Regions from separate parts of the Homo sapiens genome. Here region 1 is linked to region 2. The links are contacts of gene promoters, found by promoter capture Hi-C in blood cells and fetal thymus (Javierre and others, 2016). All regions are on one chromosome and are shown on one strand. Each heading gives the region's core, a stretch centred on a gene start or on the middle of the fragment in contact. The rest is flanking DNA. Distances are from core to core; before and after follow the strand shown. Region 1 overlaps LOC105375199 (a long non-coding RNA gene). Region 2 holds the start of SNX10 (sorting nexin 10).

The links. Contacts are between HindIII fragments. The CHiCAGO score rates a contact against its expected background, and 5 or more counts as called.
Region 1: a fragment that was not itself captured here is called in contact with the fragment with the promoter of SNX10 in region 2 in 1 of 17 cell types (activated CD4 T cells); the score reaches 6.6 in activated CD4 T cells.

What each region holds. Positions count from the first base shown.
Region 1 is chr7:26,110,535-26,113,331 of GRCh38, reverse strand. All of the region lies in intron 1 of LOC105375199 (a long non-coding RNA gene), which reads left to right. All of the region lies in intron 1 of LOC105375198 (a long non-coding RNA gene), which reads right to left. Among named protein-coding and RNA genes, the nearest start is that of NFE2L3, 40 kb to the left of the region's middle. The HindIII fragment of the contact is 766 bases long and covers 1,134-1,899 here.
Region 2 is chr7:26,290,586-26,293,579 of GRCh38, reverse strand. SNX10 (sorting nexin 10) reads right to left here and starts at 1,718. Exons shown (of 7, transcript NM_013322.3): 1 at 1,494-1,718. RefSeq lists silencers at 1,225-1,304, 1,455-1,694. The HindIII fragment of the contact is 4,940 bases long and covers 1-1,889 here.

The DNA.
Region 1 (2,797 bases), core at 267-2,766, 180 kb after region 2:
AATCTATATAAATTATTCTATTAAAAATCATTTATGACATTAATTTAAGACTGTTCAGGAAATCTAGGACTTTCGATTGCCTTGAATCTGTCAAAAAATGTTATGGTTACAACATTATTTTTAATATGAAAAACCCTAGAAACTATGAAAATATCTCACACTAGGGAAATGGTTATAGCACTTTCATGTAGTGAAAAACTATGCAGCTCTTACAAAAAATAATGAAGTAGATTATCTATGCCAAGATGAATCAATCTGAGACCTGAGGTCAAATAAAAATGGCAAGTGCAATACAGTGTGTGTTCTTATTTGTGTAAACAAAAAGGGACATCACATGTAAATATACATATATATACAAAGAAAAATTCCAGAAGGATAGAGGTCAAGATCTGAGACAATATACTGTGTCTGGATTTAAAAAAATCTTGTGCATTTATTCCTTTTGCCAATGAAAAAAAGAACAGCAAAAAAAGTAACATAATCATTATGTGGGTGCGGTGGCTCACACCCATAATCCCAGCACTTTGGGAGGCCGAGGCAAGAAGATTGCTTGAGCCCAGGAGTTCGAGACTAGCCCGGGCAACATGGCAAAACCTGATCTCCACCCAAAATACAAAGATTAGCTGGGCATGGTGGTGTGAGCCTGTAATACCAGCTACTCAGGAGGCTGAGGTAGGAAGATCACATGAGTCTGGGAGGTTGAGGCCGCAGTGAGCTGCGATCAGATTTGGTGACTGAATGAGACCCTGCCTCAAAAAAAAAAAAAAAAAAGTAATGATTAAAGTTTTTTTTTGTTGTTGTTCATGTTAAAAGTTTGTACACCAGTAACCAAAAGGGGAAAAACAAGCAATATTCAACACAACTAATTATGGGTAAAATTTTCGTTCTTTGATGTGGCTTTCTTGTTTTGTTTTTCATTTTGTCCCTGAGGTGGCAGCCTCATCCTTTCATGCTAGTGCTGGCTCTATGATGAACCACCAGATTCTGAAATTTTCCCCCTACTTTTCTGTAGTAGGAGCTTATCCCAGCTGAGCTGGCCTCACTCTTGCATCCGAAGGAGTCACGTAGAGCTTTCAGAGCAATTGTTCTCCGAATAGAGTTCCCAACTCAAAACTTAATAGCAAATGGAAGCTTCTTTGGTCTTGTGCTGATAAAGACTCTTTCAGCCTGGATGAACAATAGGGAAATGATTTACTAAATTAGGGCCAACAATACGCTGATATACCCTTTGTAAAAAATTGTGATTATGAAACTTATAGGAGAAAATACCTGCCATAATCATAAATGAAAGCAGCAGATGAACAGATCACATATACATCATGAATCTAATTTTGCAGAAACAAAAGGGGGACATATTGATCAGCCAGCTTTTAGAGTGATTTGGTAAATTGGGTATTTGGGTTTTTCCCAAACATTATCTTAATTTTGGCATTACATGAATGTATTGTATTAAAAAGTTAAAAAGGAAGCAGTAAAAATTGTGAGATCCTAATATGAAAAAAGAAAATATGTTTTCTTGTTTCCCTTTAATGTCCTGATATGAAGAAGGGAAGTGCCCAGGCTCAAGGTCACGCATAGCTAAGAAAATCAAGACAGAATCATAGTGCAGAAATGACTCTTTGATTGCACTTCTGGGCACACAAATGGGGATTCTGCCGTGGCAAGGTTGGGCACAACTATGAGTATAAAATCCCATTATGGATGGATTCCACTTGGAACTTCCTAATGGACGGTGGCCACCATGGTTTGAGTTTATATCAGCGTGACTGGCCCTGCTGCTCATTCATCATTTACAAGTGCTCTGCCTCACCGTGTCTTGATACAAGGCCCAATTATTCTCTAGGTTGATATAAATTATTTGTTATTGGGGGACAATGGTTTAGCAACTTAGGGAAAGCTTTAGAAAATTCTCCTTGAATGTCCAGAGAGCTTGGACTCTGGGAAATCTGATTGGTGACCATTGTTGGGAGTAGATTTGCCTCCTTTCATTCCCTTACACATTTTATCTCTCAGCTAATATGGTAACCAGCACTGCTCTCTGCTCATTAATTGCCAGGCATATCAGGTAAGGCCCAGTCTTCCTCAATTTCTTTCTTCCTATTCTAAAATAAATAATGCCCAGGGGTTATTCTATTTCTGCCTCTTTCCAGGTGTGACTTTGTCTACGTAGGTAGATATAGCACTATCATCCGTTTGGCTAGTGCTAAACCACTCTGCTGCTTTGCTGACTGCTGCAGAAGCCTTGCCTCGACTAGAATACATCCTCTTGTCTCACCTGTACAGTGTCCTTTGGGAAAAGTGGGTCTTCATAAGATGACACTTGAAACCTTCCTACTTTGGTCAGTTCAGAGAATGACTAGATGGGGAGAGAAGTCACCAACTCTGAGGTTTTGTGAATTAGCAGCTGAGAGATTACTTATATTGCAGGGAAAAGTAAAACCATGAAGGTTGAATTGGAAAAAGAGCAGAACTTTGGGAAAATGTGATATGTAGGGACATTTTTTGCAACCAACTTTTAGTCACATAATCAACCTTCAGCAAAAAGCTGAGACTAGCAATGAAAGGCATCAATGGAGAAATTCCAGGAAATGATTGGCAAGGAAAAATCTCAGTAAAAGCAGTAAAGAGCACTTGTCTGAAATTTGAAAAATCTGAATTTTCTTTTTTTTTTTCCCTCGGGAGAAAGGGATTATAAAATTAAACCAGTTAGGCAGGGGCTCGGTGGCTCATGCCTGTAATCCCAGCACTTTGGGAGGCCGAGGTGGGCAGATCACATGAGGTCAGGAGTTCGAGACCA
Region 2 (2,994 bases), core at 469-2,968:
TTTTGTATTTTTATTAAAAACTGCCCTATCAGTCAATCTCAAGTCTACCCTTCCTTTAAAAAATAGTAATAAAAGGCCGAGCGCAGTGGCTCACCCCTGTAATCCTAGCACTTTGGGAGGCCGAGGCAGGTGGATTGCTTGAGCTCAGGACTTCCAGACCTGCCTGGGGCAACATGGCAAAACCCTGTCTCTACAAAAAAAATACCGAAGTTAGCCAGGGGTGTGGTGGCCCGCACCTGTGGTCTCAGCTACTAGGGAGGCTGAGGTGGGAGGATCACTGAAGCCTGGGAGGTGGAGTTTGCAGTGAGCCAAGATCGCACCACTGCAATCCAGCCTGGGTGACAGAATAATACCTTGTCTCAAAAGAAAAAGAAAAAAGTAAATAATATTAAGAATAATGAAGGTCCAGCTATGTACCTACCTTAGGAATAGGCATCACTGGAAGTGATGGCAGAGGCAAGGCAGGAGTCCCTGACCTCACCTCCATTCTCTCACTGAGGAGCCCCTGCAGAAGCTGGTCAACTATCCAAGCAGTCCCTGCTTCTTCCTGGCGAAGGCCTCAGCCTCCAGCCCAGCCCCCTCCTGGGAGAGGAGGGGGAGCTTATGCAATCCAAACCCAGTTCCCAGGCCCCAGAGGTGGACATAACTCCGGGGTGGAAGTCAGAAGCCTGCCAGGTTGTAGGCCTGGTTCTGCTCCCATCTGGCTGAATGATCCTGGTCCCAACACTCAGCGTCCCTCGGCCTTAGCCTCCCTGTCTGTAAAATGAAAGGTTTGATGGAGATCATGTGCAAGCCTCCTCCCCGTTCTAATTTTCTGATACCATCATTTTTAACGTGTCTTGTAGAGATAGAAGCCCTTCCTTTCAGCAGGACATGTTGCTCCCCATTCCGTGACGATCCCCCTCAATAATCCGTGTAATTTGAGAAAAGTATGATGCATCGGAACTGAAAAACAGGCTGTTGCTTTCCTGGTCACCAAATCTGATAATCAGTCAATTATATGGATTTTCCCCTGGGCCTTCTCCCTCAATCCCACAATCCCACGAATAAACCTGCCTACCCCTCCCAATTCCTCAACTCAAGGCTACCCGTTAATGAATGAATAAAAAAATAAATAAATAAATTTTAAAAACCACCTCCCCACCCCCTTCTACCCGGCCTGGTGTAAGGTGCCACAGCACTTCTTCCGTAATCTAGAATCCACCTCTGCCCCACCCTCTCCCCGGGGTGTCTTTTTAGCCAAGAATCCCTGGATCGACGCGCTCCATCTCCCCGCTCTACCGCGCTGATCATTTCTCCCTGCCCGGCACACCTCGGCTGAAAAGGAGGCGGCTCCTCTGCTCCAAGCCCAAGGGACCCAAACCTCTTTCCAGCCCGCAAGGGTGCGGGCACCTGGGAACAGCGGGAAGGGCCCGCGCCTCTGGAAAGAAGGGCCGCCGTCCCCACCTGGGCGGTGCAGGGGAGGCCCCCTCAGCGGGTCTCTTGTCACTTACGGGCGGCTCCTCCGGGCAGAACAGAGCAGGGCCGGGCCGAGCCGGGCTTGCGGGCCGCGGAGTTTGCTGACTCAAAGGCGCGCGGCGGCAGCGGCGGCGGCGAGCGCCCAGGAGCGCACACGAGCGCAGCCCCGCGCTCCCCGCGCTCCCCGCGCTCCCCGCGCACGTAGCGGCCCCGCGCCCGCGCTCAGCGCCAGCCGTCCGCCTGTGGGCGCCGCGCCTAGTGCTTCCGCCGCCTCCGCGCAGCCCAGCCCAGGTGCGCCCCCACCCTGCAGAGCTAGCCTCCTGCTTCCTGAAATTGAGTTAGGGAGGAAATGCCCCCATTAGTCCGGACGTTGAGGCTGGAGGTGCTCCAGCGGCACCCTTCGGAATTCGCCACCTGAGTCACCTTAAGCTTCCTAACCCTGACCCCACAGTTATGGGGAGGATTGCCGATGGGGAGGAGGACGGATAAATAACGTGATAAACAAGAATGGCAGAATGTTCATAGCATCTAGGTGGTGGGCTATGGTGTTTATATAAAATTATTTCAGTTTTTGTCTATGTTTGAAATGTCTCAATAAAACATTTGGGGGGAAAGCTAATGAGATCTGCCAAGGGACCTGACTGAGGAAAGCATTTCCCAAATGGCACCTGAGGCTGGGTCCCCACACCTGTTTGCATGGGAAACCACAATCATCACTTAAACTGCTAATAAGTGACTGAATGACACAGAATAATAAGCATAGCCTAATATTTCATTTTTCAAGCATGAATTTTCCCATTAGATACAGCTTGTCGCTGATCATCCTCCAGGGACCATTCCAGGCCCACCTGAAAACGCATCTGTTCACCACACCTACATTAACTCCCTAACAAAACGTATAAATATACAATGTTGTGTCTTAACATCTTGGATCTTGAAGTTGTATTGCTGAACCCTCAATCACTGGTATTTAATTTCCTAAAATTGCACCCAAGTCATGACACACAAGTGAATGCAACCATGATCACTTTTGAAAATCAAATTAAGCTGGTGTGGTGGCTCACGCTTGTAATCCCAGCACTCTGGGAGGCCGAGGCGGGTGGATTACAAGGTCAGGAGATGGAGACCATCCTGGCTGACATGGTGAAATGCCGTCTCTACTAAAAATACAAAAACTTAGCTGGGCGTGGTGGCGCGCGCCTGTAATCCCAGCTACTCGGGAGGCTGAGGCAGGAGAATAGCTTGAACCCGGGAGGCAGAGGTTGCAGTGAGCCGAGATCATGCCATTGCACTCCAGCCTGGGCGACAGAGCAAGATTCTGTCTCAAAAAAAAAAGAAAGAAAATCAAATTAAAGTGTATTTTTTATATTCTTGTCCCTATGCTCCGCAAAGAAAAACATTGAGTAGAAAACAAAATGCAGCATGTATCTAAGATCCTAAGAGATTCTGTAAAATTAAAATCTTTCTGAACTTATTGTCAAGAGCATGACTTTACAGCTGTAGACAAAGCAGCAACAAACCCTTGGAGAGTCTACT